Linked DNA regions of Homo sapiens: region 2 is linked to region 1. The links are contacts of gene promoters, found by promoter capture Hi-C in blood cells and fetal thymus (Javierre and others, 2016). All regions are on one chromosome and are shown on one strand. Each heading gives the region's core, a stretch centred on a gene start or on the middle of the fragment in contact. The rest is flanking DNA. Distances are from core to core; before and after follow the strand shown. Region 1 holds the start of H1-7 (H1.7 linker histone). Region 2 overlaps LOC102725258 (a long non-coding RNA gene).

What was found. Contacts are between HindIII fragments. The CHiCAGO score rates a contact against its expected background, and 5 or more counts as called.
Region 2: a contact is called between a fragment that was not itself captured here and the fragment with the promoter of H1-7 in region 1, in 2 of 17 cell types (M0 macrophages and M1 macrophages). The highest score is 6.0, in M0 macrophages.

What each region holds. Positions count from the first base shown.
Region 1 is chr12:48,326,191-48,331,131 of GRCh38, reverse strand. H1-7 (H1.7 linker histone) reads right to left here and starts at 2,152. Exons shown (of 1, transcript NM_181788.1): 1 at 853-2,152. The coding sequence starts at 1,840. The coding sequence ends at 1,073. RefSeq lists an enhancer at 895-1,394. The HindIII fragment of the contact is 4,449 bases long and covers 1-4,131 here.
Region 2 is chr12:48,198,929-48,204,093 of GRCh38, reverse strand. All of the region lies in intron 1 of LOC102725258 (a long non-coding RNA gene), which reads right to left. OR10AD1 (olfactory receptor family 10 subfamily AD member 1) reads left to right here and starts at 802. Exons shown (of 1, transcript NM_001004134.1): 1 at 802-1,755. The coding sequence starts at 802. The coding sequence ends at 1,755. The HindIII fragment of the contact is 1,307 bases long and covers 2,895-4,201 here.

The DNA.
Region 1 (4,941 bases), core at 903-3,402:
CAAAAGACCTATTCATTATCTAGCCTTCTCCATCTCCTTGTATTTGTGCTATGCAATCTGTCAATCTTCATAATTTCCTCTTTAGGAGTTGGCACTTTCTCAGAAGATAATTTCCTTATTGCTGAATTTTGTCAAGAAAACCATTATGCCATGATGTTTAAGTCCCCTTTTCATTTTACTGACATTTAAATCACCTAGAAATCATCTTAGCTCAATCCCAACATTTTACTGAGAAGAAAACCAAGACCATGAATGGTTAAGAAATAACTCAGCAAAGGTCAGACTAGCAGAACTTTGACTAGAATCTTGGTCTTACTACATAGTGGTCCAGCAGTTTTCTGCTATAGCACATTACCACTCCATCGGGAATTAATTATACACATATTTAACTCTCAGTGATGAGTACCTATCCTATGCCAGGCCCTATGCTGGATGCTTTCATACACTTATTTAACTGAGGATTGACATAAGAATATCTTTTAAATTAAAATAGGTTATCAATTCAAGGCAAAAACTACAAACTCATTATAATCAATTTTGGGAGGACTTTGTCCTAAAAGGAATTTCAGGTAAGAACACTTTGAATCAGTGGGACCACTCAACTTAAAGACTGTCTACTCTTTTCCCAACATGCCTTCCTCCCCAGAACTCAATTTGGATTTGCTAGAGTATCTAACAATACTTCAACACTTGTTAAGCTGCTGGTTTTCCTCTGTTTTCTCTCCTTCTAAAAGACATTTCTCTGAGTTCTGCAGCAGGAACAGAATCTCAGCTAATTTACTGTCTTCACTGAACGTTACCACCACCCACCCCTTCCCTTCCAGGTGCGGCAAAGAGGAAACAGACACAAGGTGGTCTAGAGGTCCATTTCATTTCAATGAGTGTGACAGCCGCTCTTCTTGGGGCCTATGGGGGAAAGGCATTGGTCCGTGGTGGGAGTGAAGCTGCTCCCACAAGATGCATTCCCAACTGGATCAGGAAGACCTTCAGATTTAGGGGAGGTCTTTGTGGAAGTCTTTAGTGGAGTCTTCCCCTGCCCGCTAGATGTCCGGTCGGTTTTAGCCCGCGTTGGCTACTGGATGGTCCGCTGTGCGGGCTTCTTGGGCTCCTGCTTCTCTTCCCTGGGCTTGGAGCTTCGCCTCTTGTCCTTCCCTGACCTCGGCGTGGTGTCTTCCTTCACGGCCTGTCCTCGCCCCTCGTCTGCCGCTGTCGCTCCCGCTTCCTCCTTGGCTCTGGCACACGGCGGCTCCTTGGCTCTCGGCCTTGCCCTCCTGGTCCTCCTCGCCCTGGCATTGGCCTTGGCTTTCGCCCTCGCGTTCCGTCTCCACACTTCTCTGGCCTTCCTGGCCGCCTTGCGAAGGGGCTGGCGGCGCCTCCGGGAGCTCCGGGGCGCGGCTGGGGTCCTCCAGGGAGCGCGCGTGCCCTCCTCTTGCCTCGCGCGTCCCGGCTTTCTCCTGGGCTTGGGAACCTTCCAGACCCTGAAGTAGCCGGCGGCGTCGCTGCCGCTGACCCGGAGGAGCGTGGCCTTGGCCTGCCCCCTGGGCGCTTCGTGGCGGCCGCTCTTCCTGCGCACTTCGTAGCCGGCGTTTCGGAGCTCCTTCTTGAGAGCTGCCAGAGTCAGCCCTTTGTGAGTGGAGATGGCCTGGAGCACCAACTGGGACACTCTGAGCACGGAGCTTGAGCAGCCCCTCGATGGTCCCCCGACAGTTTTTTCCGCTGGCAGCTGAGTGGCTGAGTGTCCTCGGGATTCGCCACTGGGCCCAGGCGCCTCAGCCATGGCCCCACTCCCGCCTCTGCGGGGCCACCGGCTTTGGGCCTCACCAGTCAAGGCCTGTTCCATAGCTGAGGTAGACTGGGCCACGTCACAAAGGCAGGCCTGGCAGAGATTTTCAGGTCCTAATTATGGGGCTGGCATATCTCACCCGGGGAGGGGCCCTTTTCACTTATAATAACCAATCAAATGCCACTTCCTTCTAGGTCTAAACCAATCCAAGTCTTCAGCGCCTGTCCACCCCCAACAGTCACCTACCTATAGAGTCTCCAGGGTTTTGTTCCCAAATCAAACTTACTGATCTCGATCTCCACCGCTTTCTTTAGTCGGCTATTTTGTGTGTGTATGTGGTCCTGCAAACCATCTACCCACAGTTCCTTAAGGTGAGCGAAGCTGCTCCCAACTATCCAAAACAAGCAACACACTGCCTGTAGAAAGTACACGGGGTAGTCCATGAAACACAACCCAGATTAGAAACTCCCACCTTTAATTCCACCAGTCAGGTATCTGAAGTCATGTCTCCCTAATTCTACACAGTGGATTCTGTGCAAGAGCATGAAGTAAAAAAGGAACCAATTGTGTGATCCCTCTACCCTAAACACTGATTCCCACACCTGGGAAATTTAGATGACGCATTCAACTGTACTGAAACAATCTAGATTTCACATCGCCTGAGGATACTGGTCTAATCATTATTCTTTGAACATACTGTGTTTTTTTCCATCTCATCCCCTCTCTTGGATTTCTCATCCTCTTTGTCTGCCCAGATAAGTCCTGCTCATCTTTCAAGGTACTGCTACATTATCCTTCTTCACTGAAGACTCCCCAAACTCTTTCAAATGATTTCTTGCCTCTTAACTACCACAACCACCAAAATTACTTCTGCAATCTTATATGGCTTTTTCTTTATTTTAAATGAATTTGGCATTAGAGGGTATAATGTGACACAATATTTTTTAAAAAGAAAAAAACTCGTACTTGGAGCTGGAAGATATGGATGCATATCCTAGCTCTTTAGGAGCCATATGACATTAACAAATCCCTTAATATCAGTGGTGTGGCTGTCAGATGGATGTGCCGGCCATCTGACTTCTTATCTAACATCACATTCCCTTCCTACCAACATCACAGAATTATTGCAAAATTTCAGAAGAGGTAGATGAACAAGGGCTACCTAAATATAAGGAATAAATTTACTTTACTTTGAATGTTTCTGTCTTGTATTTCCAACTAAATAAAGATATCCTCAAGAGCTATAGTCTTTGAACTTCTATGTCCCATGCTGCACCTAACAATATGCTTCATTATACACAGCGGGCATTTAATTGAGCCTGCTTACATCATTCCTCTCTGGTGAGGAGAGTTTCTCTAGATTCAGAAAGAAACTTCCAGAAGATCAGGAGAAAGGAGCAGAGTGAATTTCAAAGGGTTGGAAATGAAGGGGGCCAAGTAAGGATTAGCTTATCAAGGACCTATTTTGGACACAGTTTAGTTGGGAATAATTTAAAGTATTATTCTAAGAATACTTCAAATTGCCAAGCATATCATACTTTTCCAGAGGGCAATCACATACATTCATCAGTCACAGGCTAGACAGTGACAGTTTCTTTTAAAAATCAAAGCTCCAGGAAGTAGCTTAGACCAGTGCTTTTTTTTTTTTTTTTTGAGACAGAGTCTTGCTCAGCCCAGGCTATGTAATGGCACAATCTTGGCTCACTGTAACCTCCACCTCCTGGGTTCAAGCAATTCCTGTGTCTCACCCTCCCAAGAAGCTGGGATTACAAGCATGTGCCACCACATCCAGCTAATTTTTTTTTTTTTTTTTTGAGACAAAGTCTCACTCTGTTGCCCAGGCTGGAGTGCAGTGGTGCAATCTCGGCTCACTGCAACCTCCGCCTCCTGGGTTCAAGTGATTCTCGTGCCTCAGCCTCCCAAGTAGCTAGGATTACAGGTTCCTGCTACCATGCCCAGCTAATCTTAGTATTTTTAGTGGAGATGGGGTTTCACCAGGCTGGTTGGCCAAGCTGGTCTCAGACTCCTGACCTCAGGTGATCCACCCACCTTGGCCTCCCAAAGTGCTGGGATTACAGGCGTGAGCCACTGCGCCTGGCCCTTATTTATTTATATATTGGTAGAGACGAGGTTTTGCCATGTTGGCCAGGCTGGTCTCGAACTCCTGGCCTCAAGCAATCCACCCACCTCAGCCTCACAAACTGCTGGGATTATAGGCATGAGCCACTGCGCCCAGCCAGACCAGTGCTTCTTAAACTTCAATGTGCATATTTAATACCCTGGGATACTCATAAAGTGCAATTCATAGGTCTGAAGATAGGGCTAGAGGTTTTACCTTCTAAGAAGCTTCCAGGTAGTTCTATCTGGTTAAAACACAGGTGTGTGTTGAGGGGCAGGGAGAGGGTAGACAATGAGAAGGGGAGTAGCAGGAGATACGACTGAAAAGGTAGTTAAGGGACATTGGGAAGGACAACTAGTGATAATGACAGAGCTGTAAGTGGTGACACGGTAGCAAGTGGTAGAGTTTGGAACCAAACCTAAGTCTACTTAATCCTAAGGCCTAAGTTCTTAAGTACTGTGTTAGGTTTCCTTTTCTCTAAGGTTGACCCTTTCCCTATTATATATCTCCACCATAAAGCAGGGGCTAGTTTATCTCCATAATCACAGTTCAGAGCTGCTCAGATTCAAGAGTATCTAAAGGCACTCACTGTACCTTTTCCCATCTTTAAAATCAGGGCACAGTAATGTGACCCTGAGGATTTACATGGGCAGGGGACTACTGCATCAGCACAGGGACAGTGCACCCAGGAAGGACTGCCAGATGGAAAGGCAGGACCACATTAAGCAGGATTTCTCCCATTTGTATAGTCTCTTGGTCTAGCTACCCTTCCTGGTTGCAGAGACCAGTGGCCACAGGATGGGGCAAACACCAGATAAAAAAGAGGCATAACTGCTTGCTTTGAGAATAAGGAAGAAAATGAGTGAAGTCAGACCCTTGAAGTCAGCTGATCCAGAGAAAAATAGACTGACTGTACATAATGGTGTAATCATGAAAGACAAGAACAAAATCAACCAACCATGTTTACTGATGCCCCTGTGATCAGAAGGGAGGCCAAGTTGAAACCTTTGGGAGAGGCGAAATCAAAGGAAAACGAATA
Region 2 (5,165 bases), core at 2,299-4,798, 130 kb after region 1:
TTCCAGCCCCAGGAGGAAAACCATCTCCTATTAGGAAGGCATGCATGAGCCCCCACCCAGCCCTCAGCTCCAGCATGCACAGCATGGGTGGCTGCGGTAGCAGCAGCAACTGCTGGGCGAGTGAGTCTGGGAAGAGGTGGGTGACTGGGAAGAGCTTGACATGACTGTCTCCAAAAAGGTGCAAATCACTGTTAGCTGAGGGACAATTGTGAGGATTAGAATGTTTTTATTTTCCCTGAAACTTCAACCCATTCATCATTTTAAATTAGGTACACAGAGGTTGAGCATTTTTGCTTCTAGAAAAATACACCTTCAAATATCTCAAGTGCTTCCTAAATACAATCTTCTATAACCTGATAGCCACCAGCCCTTTCCCTCACACACTCCATTCTTCAATTCCTAAAACTTTTCCTCAGTTGGCATGGTCCCAGACCCAATTATCTTATTTTTTCACCTCTGAATACATCCTGGTTAATGGCTAATCCTTCAATATTGAGGGCTCTGGAGCAGATGCAATACTTCACTTGATGCCTGATGAAACCAGAGTAAAGAACATTACAACCAGCACTTTCTTCATCTGTTGATATTATGATTCTATGTATGCAGCCTGTGATGACCCTGGCATTTTCACCACCCCGTAACACTGCCAAATTACTAGTTTACTAAGTTCCAAAAGGTTGACCACCATTCATCCATCCTGTTTTATAATTGGGCTTCTGGGACCAAGTGGGTACCTTCTATTACCCCACAGCTATACCCTTGTGCTTTTCCCATCATCTTTCCTCCTCAAACAGGCCCCAGATGCTAAGGAATGGCAGCATAGTGACGGAATTTATCCTCGTGGGCTTTCAGCAGAGCTCCACTTCCACACGAGCATTGCTCTTTGCCCTCTTCTTGGCCCTCTACAGCCTCACCATGGCCATGAATGGCCTCATCATCTTTATCACCTCCTGGACAGACCCCAAGCTCAACAGCCCCATGTACTTCTTCCTCGGCCATCTGTCTCTCCTGGATGTCTGCTTCATCACCACTACCATCCCACAGATGTTGATCCACCTCGTGGTCAGGGACCACATTGTCTCCTTTGTATGTTGCATGACCCAGATGTACTTTGTCTTCTGTGTTGGTGTGGCCGAGTGCATCCTCTTGGCTTTCATGGCCTATGACCGTTATGTTGCTATCTGCTACCCACTTAACTATGTCCCGATCATAAGCCAGAAGGTCTGTGTCAGGCTTGTGGGAACTGCCTGGTTCTTTGGGCTGATCAATGGCATCTTTCTCGAGTATATTTCATTCCGAGAGCCCTTCCGCAGAGACAACCACATAGAAAGCTTCTTCTGTGAGGCCCCCATAGTGATTGGCCTCTCTTGTGGGGACCCTCAGTTTAGTCTGTGGGCAATCTTTGCCGATGCCATCGTGGTAATTCTCAGCCCCATGGTGCTCACTGTCACTTCCTATGTGCACATCCTGGCCACCATCCTCAGCAAAGCCTCCTCCTCAGGTCGGGGGAAGACTTTCTCTACTTGTGCCTCTCACCTGACTGTGGTCATCTTTCTCTACACTTCAGCTATGTTCTCTTACATGAACCCCCACAGCACACATGGGCCTGACAAAGACAAACCTTTCTCCCTCCTGTACACCATCATTACCCCCATGTGCAACCCCATCATTTATAGTTTCCGCAACAAGGAAATTAAGGAGGCCATGGTGAGGGCACTTGGAAGAACCAGGCTGGCCCAGCCACAGTCTGTCTAGCAGGAAGGCCCTGAAAGGAAAGCTCCTTCACCTGGGGAATGGGAGAGTTACCCCATCCCCAGCCCTGGCAGATGAGTAACTCTCCTATGCTGAAAGGCTCCAGGAAAGAGCGTTCATGGCTTCCTTGGCACTAGAATCAGACCTGAAAGTTCCTCCTGATGTCCAATGTCCTGATGTTATCTCTCTGACTTCACTTCCACATTGTTTTTTCTTGGACCTTCCTCGGGAGAATTTCGGATTTTCCTTAGTTTTTTTCCTCAGTTTCTTTTCCTCTTAAGTTCTCACAACAGGATTCAATAAATAAGTGCACTTAACTCCATTTTATTTGTATATACCTTTACATGCTAGTCCCCCAACCTGAGTTTCGTACATACATTTAGAAATAAACTCTTTTATTTTTCAGCTCTTCATTTTACTGTTTTTCTTTCTCAAATTCCACTCTCACTTCCTGGGTCTACCCTCATCTACCCAATTCCTGTGAAAAGTAGGTAAAGAAGCAAGAAAAAAAGGGCTGGGCGCAGTGGCTCATGACTGTAATCTCAGCACTTTGGGAGGCTGAGGATGGAGTTTGAGACCTGCCTGGGCAACATAGGGAGACCCATCTCTACAAAAAATTTAAAAAATGAACTGGGTGTGGTGGCACATGCCTGTAGTCCCAGCTACTGAGGAGGCTGAGGTGGGAGGATTGCTTGAGCCTGGGAGGTTAAGGCTGCACGAGCAATGATAGCACTGCTGCACTCCAGCCTGAGCAACGCAGCAAGACCTTGTCTCATTAAAAAAAAAAAAAATGAAGAAGAAGAAGGAAGGAAGGAAGGGAGGGAAGGAGGGAGGGAGGGAAGGGAAGGGAAGAAAGAGGGAACTAGGGGTAAGTACTCACATAAGAAAAGTCAGTTAAAGAAAAAAAAAAGATCAGCACCCTGAACTTCATCTTCTTAGCTTCCACCAGTCATGGGGGGAGAATGATACTAAATGTCAACAGTGCACTCAATTTGTCTGTGTTGTGTGTTGTCGGGGACGGATGGGTGATAGAGGCCAGTGTGCCAAACCCCTTCTCCTAAATCCTCTAGCTTCCTTTAGCAACAGGACCGTCTGCATGATATTTCCCTTCCCATGCAAGTGGCAAGTGCCTCTACCAAGCTTCTCAGGTTACCTATTTCCTTCCCTGTTATCCATACCCCAAATTAACTCCCCTCTCCCCCTACTGCCTTCCTTTTTCTCTTCCATCTTTCATTTCATTCCACCTCAATCCTACTCCACCTTACCTCCTCATCTTACATGGATCCCTGTATTTTAAGGAACCCTTCTGCATACTACCTCTACCATTGCAGAAGTCTTTCAATTTGTAACCCTGCCCTCTGTGGCTTCCTCTAGCTTCTCACCTTAACCAAACACAGCTTTCTTTGAGAAGGTACTACATCCTCAGCAGTTCTCTTTCTTTGAAAATTGCATTTTTCTCATACCCCTTCATAATAAAACAAGGGGGTAGGCCTGTTCTTTATTTCGCAGTGCACTTCCATAATATGAATGGACCTCATTTGGGATGCTCTCAAATAGATGTACTGCCCTTTCCACTCCTGCGCATCACACACTACCCTTTGCAATGATGACTTAAAACAGTAGCTTCTGGCAGCACGTGGTGGCTCACACCTGTGATTCCAGCACTGTGGGAGGCCAAGGTGGGCAGATTACTTGAGGCCAGGAGCTCAAGACCAGCTTGGTCAACATGGTGAAACCCCGTCTCTAATAAAAATACAAAAATTAGCTGGGCGTGGTAGCGCATGCTTGTAATTCTAGCTACTTGAGAGGCTGAGGCAGGAGGATCACTTGAACCCAGGAGGCAGAGGCTGCAGTGAGCCATAATTACACCACTGCACTCCAGCCTGGGTGACAGAGTGAGACTCTATCTCAGGCAAAACAAAACAAAACAAAACAAAACAAAAACAGTAGCTTCACTCCACAAAACTCCAATCTTTTGAGTCCAAATTGATTTCTCCAGAAATCAGAGGATGTGAGAAGCTCTTCTTAACAAGGAGAAAGGAGAAACCACTGTAATTGGGAAGAAACGATAAATGCAGAACCTAAAATTTCCATTGTCAAAATTTGCATCAAAGTTAAACAGGCAAGAAAGACCTTAAGACTATTGCAATACGAGATTAAACTCAACACTACTCAAACAAGGGTCTGGGAAGTTTTTAAGAGCTGCTGTACGGGAAATCACATGACATCTGTGTTTGCTAACTGCAAAGGAAAAGGACACTTTCTTGTATCTTCAAAACAAGCTGTAGTTTTACAATTCCAAACAAGGCACCCACAGGAGGTTAGGCTCCCACCCTCCCACAGAGACTGAGAGATAGGGGTGCTATCTTCCTTGATGATTACATTTCAAAGGGATGGCTCACAGGTCCTTGAGAAAGACATTCCCTAGGTCGTAAAACTGGCATAAGCTTCTAAGGAGATTTATACACATTTCAAAGGAGCAGAGAAGAATTTTGCAATCACAAGTTTTCTAAAGTAAACACTCAAAGAAAGGGGAGGTCAGGGCCCTAACATCCAGAAGAAACCTGTCTAAAGTTGTCAGGCTGAGGTGAATGTTAAGGCTCTTTTGGTCACCACTGAGAACAACAACAAAAAGGTCCCAATCTTTCCCCCTAGGGTCTCAGCTTCTTCTCTAGGTTTGAAAATTCCTATCTCAAAGAGGAAAAAGTGAAGGAAAGGAAGAAAGGGAAAGGAGAAGAAAGACTGCTTTTAAAAAGTTTTCTAAGAAATCATTTCTTAGCTTTACATTTGCCCAGCACTGACAGACGCTGAGATTATAAACAAGACAGTTCCAGCTTTTGAGAATCTCAGTCTAGTAGGGCAGGCAAGAACAAATAATGGTAATAGAAAGGGCAAGCGTTATAAAAGGCCTACACAAAGTACTTTGGAAGCACATATGATAACATACTTATTAAGCACTTATATTGTAAGAGCTTTCCATTTAATCGTCACATAACCTTATGAGGTACTAGTATTATCTCAATGTTGAGATGCAAAAACTGAGGCTCATAGAGGTCAAATACTCAAAATCCACAGCATTTACAATGGCATAGAGGCCTGCGCCTATAATCCCATACACTCAGGAGGCTGAGGCGGGAGGATTGCTTGACCCCAGCCTGCAGTAAGCTATGATCCCGCCACTGCACTCTAGCCTGGGCGACACAGCGAGATCCCATCTCTAAAAAAAAAAAATTAAACTAAAGAAAAATAATAGAACAGCATAGCTCCTGTTCCTAAGCCTGCACTCCTAAGAAGGTCCAGGACAGCGCAGGCTTTATACCAAGGAGGTGATACTGGCTGCGCCGTTAAAAATACGCTGGAGTTGTAACGTAGAAAATTGGGGCGGGGGTTCGATACCGGGGACGAGTGAAATT